3 separate regions of the Homo sapiens genome follow, and regions 1 and 2 are each linked to region 3. The links are contacts of gene promoters, found by promoter capture Hi-C in blood cells and fetal thymus (Javierre and others, 2016). All regions are on one chromosome and are shown on one strand. Each heading gives the region's core, a stretch centred on a gene start or on the middle of the fragment in contact. The rest is flanking DNA. Distances are from core to core; before and after follow the strand shown.

Region 1 (3,444 bases), core at 287-2,786, 3.2 Mb before region 3:
AGCACCAGAAGCCAGGTCAGTGGGGATGCAGGCAGCCAGGGCCAGAAAAAAGGGACTGTGAACCAGTTGTGCAACCTCTGCCTCACTTGATGAAAGGGGCAAACTCAGTCCCTCAAGCCCTTTTATAATGCACAAATCCAGAGGGCAGAGCCCTCATGGCCTAATCACCTTCTAAAGGCCTCACCTCTTAATATTGTTGCATTGGGGATTAAGTTTCCACATAAATTTGAAGGGGACACAATTATTCAAACCAAGCAGTAACCCGCTAAGATATAGTCTGTTATGGTTTAATGACATAATCAAATCGAAAATTTTAGAACTCTTATTCTACATGGGACATTATTTTTATAAATGACTGACTTTATATTGTTTAATTACTAATTCTTGTGAATTCATTATTAACTAATTATAATAGCATCCAAGGGTATTCCAAAGAGGTTCCTAGAATTAGCGAGTTTTAAATGGTGGAAATTTCCAACCCTCATGGCAAGAGGAGTAATTTTGAAAGGCTGAGCTGTTTAGCATACACCTAACTTTGTACCAGGTGGTGATCCTGGATTTTTACTCACGTATAAAATCAGCCTCTTTATAGACTCAGTCTGATAGCAACAATATAAACATATGCATGAAAGGCTGGGCTATCACAATTATACATTAATAAGGTAGCATTCATGTTGTATATTAATGTGTTTCTGCAAGTATTTTTGTTTGATTAAATGAAAAAAAAAGCCTGAACTATATTTTGAAATGCATTTGGTGATGAAAGAGGATTGGGTTAGAGGCAATTTACCTATCAGTTCCTTTTGGAGGTACAGCTTAGAGATCTCAGAGCTATAAAGTAGAAATTGCCTGGCAGTCCTGCCTCATTGCTAAGGTGACAATGAGAGTGTCAGATGGGCACCCTCCCTGGATGACCTGAAGCATTAGTGGGTCTTAGTCACTTCATATTAAATAGAACATGTAACAAACACTCACTTCAAATGAAAGGGAAGGCAGTGCACTGGAGATCTAATTCTTCCCTCTATTTAATGGACTCTTAAATTCCTGAATCATTTGGTTCTAAATTCTTTGGTTACTGCTGCTGTGGAAGAGTAATGGTAGAAATGTATTCTTTTGTGCATGTGTGGTTTTTCAGATTACAAATGAAGCTTCTTTTCTCTTTTTCCTTATTGTCAACTAAGCTTAAATAGTAGCATCGAAAGCTCTCTTCTTCACTTTAGATGCTAGTGACACTTGTGAATTTATGATTGCTAACACTTAAACTCTGAGCAAAACACAAACCCACCTCTAGCTGTTGATAATTGATTACTTAGACAGCTGGATTCAGTCTTCATTTTCATTCTGTAGAGTTTGAGTATTGACCAAACTGCTTCCTGCAATATGCAAGCTCTCTTTTGATAGCATCTTTCTTAATTCACAGTCAAATCTTAAAATGTCTAAAATGCATACATACATATATATTTGAATTTTCATTACTTATGTGTTTATAAAGCTAGATAGGAATAAATTATTCCAACTGCACCCAAATTAGTCTTTTGGTTAGCTTGCTTTGTGATGAGAAGAATGGTTTTGTAAGAGATGGAAATGAGAGGAGTGATATGTGAACTGATATCTGATCTTGTAGGCATGGCTTTGTGTGCTTCAGACAGGAAGAAAAAGAAATAAACTCAAAAGACAGAAAGCAGCAGTTTAGAAATTATGTTATTATCGCTAATTTGGAAACTTCTTGACTTTGTGAAGTGGGAAATTTATACAAATAGAGTATGTGCTGGTAATTCAATTCCCTAATCTGCAGTCAAAAATTTACTGCAGAACTGAGAAGGCGAGCAGAGTTGTCTCCTGTCTAGGTGCATGGCTGGATTAGGCAGTGAATGGACTATTGGCAAGCTTAGGAGACCAGTAAAGAACCACCTGCCTCCACTACTGAAAAGAGAATTCTAAACCTGAACTTTGAAGGTAGAACAGTTAGACAGAGGTTATTTTAATTTTAGTATGTGTGTGATTTTTTGATGTCACTTTGAAAAATTCCATGTGAAGGGTTTAACCTTTTCAGTGTTCAGGCCTCTAAAGAGCCTAATCTGGCCCTTCATTGGTTGATGTAGTCCCACATAATGAAATTTGAAGGGATCTCAATGGTATCCTATCTAAAAATATCTAATAAAGACTTTCAGACTCAGATATTGTCTTCCAAAATTCTCTGTGACATGTAAGTAAGAAGTGGAGAGCTTATATATCATGATTCTGGTGTGTGTGTGGAGGAGGGGATGAGAGATTGGGAGGGGAGGTTCTGATTCTTATGAGAAAAATAAACAGATGATATGATTTGGCTCTATGTCCCCACCCAAATCTCATCTTGAATTGTAATCTCCATAATCCCCACATGTTAAGGGAGGAACCTGGTGGGAGGTCATTGGATCATGGGGGCAATTTTCCTTTTGTATTCTCATGATAGTGAGTAAGTCTCATGAGATCTGATGGTTTTACAAAGGGCAGTTGTCCTGCACTGGTGCTTCTCTCTCTCCTGCAACCTTATGAAGAAGGCGCCTTGCTTCCCCTTTGCCTTCTGCCATGATTGTAAGTTTCCTGAGGCTTCACCAGCCATGCAGAGCTGTGGGTCAATCAAACCTCTTTCTTTTATAAATTACCCAGTCTTGGGTAGTATCTTTATAGCAGTGTGAAAACGGACTACTACAATAGAGTAGGGGATAGATTATATTTTCCAAGAAGCTATGATAGGGTTATATTGTTCATGTCCCTGATTCAGTATTTATTCAATATATACAGAGCATCCTTTGGTACTTAAAATATAAGTATATTGGAGTAAGTAGGTATCATTTAGGGAGTCAAGATGACTTCAAATATGCATGTGTGATTACCAAGGTAGTTCAGTATTTGATTACCAAGGTAATATATAGTTAGTTATTATAAAAATTTTTCAAATATCTAAATAAAAAAATTATTAATCCACCACCAAGAGATAGCTGCTATTAATGTGTGTATGTGTATGGTGGTGTGGGGTGGTGCGTGGTGTGTATGTGTGTGTGTGTGTATATATATATATGTATAATTGAAATCATATTTGTAGCTATGTGTGTGTCTAGAAGAGGCTGTGGAGTACTGCCTAGATTCTCTTCTTTATTTTACTTTTTAAAAAATAATAAAAGAATTTTTTAAAAGTTTCTTGCCATTTTGCTTTATTTTTACATTTGTGCTATAATGGTATTTTAAACTGAGATTAAAATGTTTGTATTACCATAGTCCTAATATAGTGCTAAGCTTGGTTCAATACATTGTGATGTATTTATGGGTGACATTTTCCCAGTATAATCCTATTTTAGTTAGTTTTTTGTTTGTTTGTTTGTTTGTTTGTTTTTAGATGGTGTCTCACTCTGTCATCTGGGCTGGAGTACAGTGGCATGATCTTAGCTCACTGCACGCTCTGCC
Region 2 (3,259 bases), core at 322-2,821, 3.2 Mb before region 3:
TGAAGGACCAGGATGTTACTGTACACTACTGTGGAATTTATAAACACCGTACAGTTAGGCTATACCAAATTTGTAAAAAGTATTTCTTTCTTCAGTAATAAATCAAACTTAGCTTACTATAACTTTTTTTAACCTTATAAAGTTTTAAAATATTTTAAAACTTTTTGACTGTTTTGTAAAAATACTTAGTTTAAAATACATTGTACAGGTATGCAGAAATATAGTACAGCTATACAAAAATATTTTTTCTTTATATCCTTATTCATAAGCTTTTTCCATTTTAAAATGATTTATTTCTTTACTATTATTTTTTAAAAAACTTTTTTGTTAAATAAACAAAAATAACACAAATACACACATTAGCCTGGGCATACTGATATGGTTTGGCTGTGTCCCCACCCCAATCTCATCTTGAATAATAGCTCCCATAATCCCCAGATGTCGTGGGAGGGACCTGGTGGGAGGTAACGGAATCATGGGGCAGGTTTTCCCCATGCTGTTCTCGTGATAGTGAATAAGTCTTATGAGATCTGATGGTTTTATAAAGGGCAGTTCCCCTGCACATGCTCTCTTGCCTGCCACCATGTAAGACGTGCCTTTGCTTCTCCTTCACCTTCTGCCATGATTGTGAGGCCTCCCCAGCCATGTGGAATTGTGAGTCCATGAAACCTCTTTTTCTTTATAAATTACCAAACCTCGGGTACTTCTTTATAGCAATATGAAAATGGACTAATACAAATACGGAGGATCAGAATCATCAATATCCTTGTTTTCCACCTCCACGTCTTGTCCCACTGGAAGGTCTTCAGGGACAATAACATGCATGGAGCTGTCCTCTCTCCTATGAGATATATATATATATATATATATATATATATATGTATTTCTCTTTCTGGATCCTTCTATAATCTTTCTTATCAGTGTTCTGAACTTCACAGTGATGAGTCTTGGGGGGTGTGTGTGTGTGTGTGTGTTTGTGTGTATGTGTGGCTTGTTCCTAACATTGGGCACTTAGTTGCCTTTTTAATCTGGGATATATCCTTCCATTTCTTATAGATTAGGAAATTGAGAGTAAGGCAGTTAAATAACCTGCCAGATCACACAGCTAAGTGACAGAGCCAGGACTGTTTGACTTCCGAATTCTGTGTGTAGTGCATAAAGTTTAGCATAGCACTTTTGCTTGTCCCTATTTAAAGTGCCCAGGTGGATACAGACAAAAGTGACTCAAGGCACATGCTGAAGGAACCCAGTGCTTCTAAAGTATTTTCTTTGCTTTCACGAAGTCTTTTGCAAAATAGTTTTGTAGACCTTAATATTCTTATTTTTCTCAACTTTCAGCCTTTCTTAAAGCTTCCTCTTCCCTTTATAGCCTATCAACCACTCAGCTCACACACATCAGGGTCCCACATGCTTGATATGTGCCCATCTAACAGCTAGTATTCTCACTCAGCATGGATATTAGCACATCTAAAACTCACATCTACAGTTACTGCCATTTCCTGCACAGGGGTTATAATATCTATACATATGTGAGAAGAGGGAGTTTGCCACAAAATATTACAGATTTTTAGTCTGTAGCTTGTGATTGCACAGTTTGTTCATAGGCAAAAACTTGTTAGCAATCTAAGTTCATTTAGTTTTATTTGTTGTTCCTGTAAATTAAAAAGTTAGGGATAACTACATTTTGATACTCCCTAAGCCACTTCTGACAGAATAAGCCTAATACACATCTGAAAATGACACTTGTGTAATCGCTTATAAAACAAAACTGGGGATTAAGACTATAAGCTTGCATTTTGATGTTCAAATACATAAAAGGAACCAAAATAATAATGCGGATATCCTTTGTTACACAGAAACTGCTTGTGTAGAATTTTGGAGATTACAGAATTAAAAGGCCAAGGAAAGGCCTTGATATCCAATGAGTCAAATGAAAAATAAAAGTAGGATGGATTTGCATTTTACTCTGTTTTCAGGCTTAATTTAAATACTTACTTTTTCCAAGATACTCAAAGAACATTATATATTTAAAGAAAGAAATGCTTAGACCATCTGTTGATATTGGTGAATCTGCTTCTCCAGCAGTTGATGTGATTTGCTGTTCTGTTAACAGAACTTTGCTTTCTTTCTTCATGTCCTTGGTTCAAGCTGACCTTTCTATGCCTTTCTTTTTCTCAAATCCTATTCATTTTTTTCAAGGACACCTCAATCCCCCTCTCACTTTGAATCCTTTGCTAATAACCTTGGTTTAGAAGTTTTTCTTCTTAACTCATGGAGTTTTTGTTCTACATATTTGGCTTATTTAACTATTGTTTACAAGTCAGTAGTGCTAAATATGTCTCTGTGGATTTATGTCTTTCATTTCCTATCACTGGGTAAGTACCTTGGCTACCTGTCATTGGCAGTGCCTTGCTTATGCACAGTTAAATATCTGTAGAATAACAGATTCACATTTTTAGCCATGCTTCATTTGAAGAGATCATAGCACTGAGAACTTGCTTTAAACAGCATAACATCATGGTTAAAAGTGCAGGGTATGGAGGCCACACTGTCAGGTCTGAATCTTGGTTTTACTGCTTACCAGTTGTGTGATGCTGGGCAAATTACTTAGCTTCATGTTGCTTAGTTTTCTTGTAAAGTGATAATGACACTCACCTGCTAGGATTGGCAGACAGATTGAATGAATTAATAGTTTTAGGGTATTTGAAACAATATCTGCTATGTAAGTATTATAGAAGCATATGTTGTAAGTTTTTTTAGATAAAGTTCTATAAAAGAGACAGTTGTCATCATTTATTTACTTAAAATACTGTGGACCTATAAAGTAGGCTAAATCAAATGGTTTTACTTTGAAAACAAGCATGAACATGCTAAAATCCATTCTCTCATCTTCTACAATAGTGAATTCACAAATGCTAAAAGTATCTGAAGGAGGTGGCACCACACCTACTCTGGCATTCTTAGCTGTGAAGAGGTGATGATGGCCACCGCAGGCCATATTCAAACTCCTGTGCAGGATAGGAGAGCTCCTCTTCCTTTTTTGATAGCAGCTTTTCCAAAGGTAGCTGAATTCTCCAACTGGGTAGTTTGAATGCAGTCAGATTCCCTGTGGGAGAATAATAGGATAAATGACTCACCCCAAGCTCATAGGCAGTCAAGTTATATTTGTTTTAGAGCAACAAGTTTTAACATTTTGATGCAGTAGATTTTAGTATTTTCATATAGACATTCCAGTGGGGCAATTGGAGTGACATAAAGT
Region 3 (3,187 bases), core at 267-2,766:
CTGCCACTGCCGCCGCTGCCCGCAGGTCGCTCTGGGTGGGGGAATCGCTGCAATCGCCCCATGAAACCCGCGGCTCCGCGCCCGGGGAGCGGGCAGAGGCAGGGCGGCCGCGCACGCACACACAGACACACGCTCACACTCACACACACTCGCACCCGGGCGCGCGCGCACTTGCACTCACACTCGCACACGCACACCCAGCACTGCACGGGGAGGAAGCAGCACGGAGGGAACCGGTCCTTCTCACGATTGGCTTCGAAGCCCACCGGACCGCGGGCAGCAAAGAGAGCGTTCTCGCATAGCCCTTTAATCACGTTTCCTTCAAGTTCTCCTCCAACCCGAATCCACGTAATTCAAGAGCTGGTGACATTTTGGTGGGGAGGAGGGAGCCGAGAAAGGGCTGAGGAAGAGTCGGGGATTTTGTTAAGCAGTTTAATAAGCAATCCTCATTACCTTATTTGTTTTGTTTTGTTTTGTATAGCAAACCAGTTCGAAGGGCTGAACTTTTGGCTTCAAATGCTGTGAACCAAAACGTAAATATCCTTCTGGCCAAGAGAAGAAGGTGTAGATACACGGAAACAAGAGGGCTGCAAGACACTCTCTTGACCTTGTGATGTACCTGGAAGCAGGTTAATATTGGCGCTTTCCAAGCTTCTGGGTAAAGCGATCCACACACCTGGGTCCACAGCCCAGCAGCCGCTCCAAATCCAGCCAGGAAAATGGGTCTGGGCGTCCTCAGAGCTCTGCAAGAACCCGGGCATGAAGGGGCATCGCCGAGTTAACACATTTGCTTCTGGGCAGTTGGATAAAAGACAGTCAAATGCATCAGATAGGCGCGCGCGTACACACGCGCGCGCACACACACACGCAGCTAGCTGGAAAGCGGCTTACAAAACACTAGAGACATGCCAAGATGACTTGAAAAGGTAGCCAACATCCAGGATCTTTCCGGAACACAGAAGGGCCAGCAGGGAGGTTATCAAAGTCTTCTCAAGTCTTTCAATTCTTCCTCTCTCCTCTGAGTGTGTGTGTGTCTGTCTAGGTTTCGTTGGTCTGCCCCACCCCCGTCCAGTTGCGCTTTTTTTTTCTGATATAACGGACCGTGCAAAATGGATTATATGGGTGGGCTGTGTTCACAGCCAGAGCTCCCCAAAGTCAAGGATCCTAAGGGAGCAGCCAGCTGCTAAACAATTCACATCCTCAAGGGAAGAAGGAAAAACACGCTCAAACACACGCAAACACGCGCACACACATACATAGTCCTCCGTTCGGGCAGCTCTGCACACGCTCACCGCCTCCCTGCGCGCCGCGGAACACAGCGCCCCGCCCGCTGGCCACCGCGCTGGGGCGAGTCCGCAGTTCAGGCGCGAGGCAAGCAGCCGAGGTCCGGGGCTGCGGCCGCGGCCGGGGCGGACCCGGGAGCTGGGCTTCCCAAAGCGTCGCGTGTGGGCAACGGCGGCCTCCTGGCCGCGTGGAACTGAGCCCTGCGCTGCAGCATGAAGGCGGCGGCGGCGGCGGCGGCGGGCGCGCGGCCGTGAGCTCAGCCCGCGCTGCAGTGACGGGAGCGGCCGTGTCGGCCAGACCCCGAGAGTCCGTGAGACCCCGGCCGGGGCCGCTCCGCTGCTGTCAGCCCTCGGGCCTCCCAGCCAGACTGGTTCTGAACCGATTTATCAGGGGGTTGCGGAGAGGGCCGGCGAAGCGCCAGGAAATCCCCAGGCTGAGGAGGCGCGGGGGCGTTGCAGGAAGGGGGAAGGGAAAAGGCAGAAAACCTGGAGAATGAAAGCGAACTTCCAGGGGCGTCCCCAGCCTCCTGCAAAAGGGCAATTTGCTGATCGCCCACTTCCTCGCAGTTACGGGATAGAGAGAATCATCACTGAGTCAAGCTTCGGCTGCTTAGGGCGGTGGGAAAAGTCATTATCTATAATAACCCGCCGGAAATTTTGAGGAGAGCTACTGACTTGGGGGTTTCAGTCATCTGAGGCTGGCTTCCGCTGTCCCCTTAGTTGTGGGTGGTGATTTGCTTACTAATCAGATGGGAGCGGATTCTGAAAAGAACATTTATATTTGGGAATCAACTCAGCTCAGCATCAGACATTACGAATACTGCAGTTGGTCACATTTTACTATGTGAAGGGCAGAAAGGGAGCCCAACAGTCTTCATAAGCCAGACCTAGTCTCTAAGGTCACCGGCACAGACGCAGGGTCTAAAGCAGGAAAGAGGTGCGACTGGAAAGGAGGTTAGACAGGGCCCTGCGGGAATGGATCTGCCCGGAGCCCTCGCCTGGTTTTGCTTGAGACTCCGACAAGACTCCCAATGCTTCTCTCCCCGACCCTATCCCCACTCCCTCCATCCTGGAAAAGCCAGTGAGCAAAGTTAACTCTTTCTTCTAAGAAACCCTGAGTGAAATCTTGCTCTTCCTTTCTGCTAGAGTCCTGAAACCCTTTCGCTTCTCATTGTGGGTTCACCAGCACGTGGTCTTCGGACACTGAGAGCACCTTCGCTCTCAGCTGTGATCCTAGCTAGCCCAGACACCAGTCTGTACCCAAAGGAAGAGTAGGAAGTTGCAAAGGGAAGCTGGCTAACAAGGGCTTCTTCTGCCCTACTTGGCAAAGGCCCATACGGGTGGCCTCCGTGGATATGGAGCTCCTTCATTTTGTTCCAAAAAGAGCTCTGCCAGGCTTTACCATTGCCCTGGAGGTGCACAGGCGCCCGTATACTCGAGCACAACCATGGGCTCACCCCAAGCGCGCACACCTGCACCCACGCGTAAGGAAGAACCACACAGCTATCTCTGTCGGGGAAGAACACGAGGAGTGAAGTGCTTTAGGTGGAAACTCCTCACATCTCCTTTCTTTCCTCTGCTCCCCCTCTCTGCCCCTGGTACTCCGGATCCAATCCTTGGCTTAGGAATCCACTCAAGCCACGTCTGGCTGCTTTGTTCCAGAGGAGCGCAGCTCCGAGACTGCACTTCAGCGGTGCAGCCTCCCTCCAGGTCGGCGAGCGGCGCCAGATCCGGGACTTCAGGGTCTCCGCGGGAGCTTAGGAGGCTCAGGATCTGAGTTGGAGAGCTGGAAGGCCAAACTCCGAGCCGCTGAGGGACTGCGCAGGAAGACCACAGAAATAAACCAAAGGGACACCGCGGACAGATGTACCAGAGGACACCACTGAAGTCCAGGAGAATCTCCA

Evidence for each region. The method cuts DNA at HindIII sites, captures the fragments that hold promoters and counts their contacts. A CHiCAGO score of 5 or more calls a contact.
Region 1: a fragment that was not itself captured here is called in contact with the fragment with the promoter of LRFN5 in region 3 in 1 of 17 cell types (M0 macrophages); the score reaches 5.4 in M0 macrophages.
Region 2: a contact is called between a fragment that was not itself captured here and the fragment with the promoter of LRFN5 in region 3, in 1 of 17 cell types (endothelial precursors). The highest score is 5.0, in endothelial precursors.

The regions. Positions count from the first base shown.
Region 1 is chr14:44,815,089-44,818,532 of GRCh38, reverse strand. No RefSeq gene overlaps it. Among named protein-coding and RNA genes, the nearest start is that of LINC02302, 18 kb to the right of the region's middle. The HindIII fragment of the contact is 706 bases long and covers 1,184-1,889 here.
Region 2 is chr14:44,788,669-44,791,927 of GRCh38, reverse strand. The region is part of intron 2 of LINC02302 (long intergenic non-protein coding RNA 2302); the gene reads left to right. Among named protein-coding and RNA genes, the nearest start is that of LINC02302, 8.8 kb to the left of the region's middle. The HindIII fragment of the contact is 438 bases long and covers 1,353-1,790 here.
Region 3 is chr14:41,605,205-41,608,391 of GRCh38, reverse strand. It overlaps LRFN5 (leucine rich repeat and fibronectin type III domain containing 5), which reads right to left and starts at 1,516. Exons shown (of 6, transcript NM_152447.5): 1 at 1-1,516. The HindIII fragment of the contact is 1,232 bases long and covers 654-1,885 here.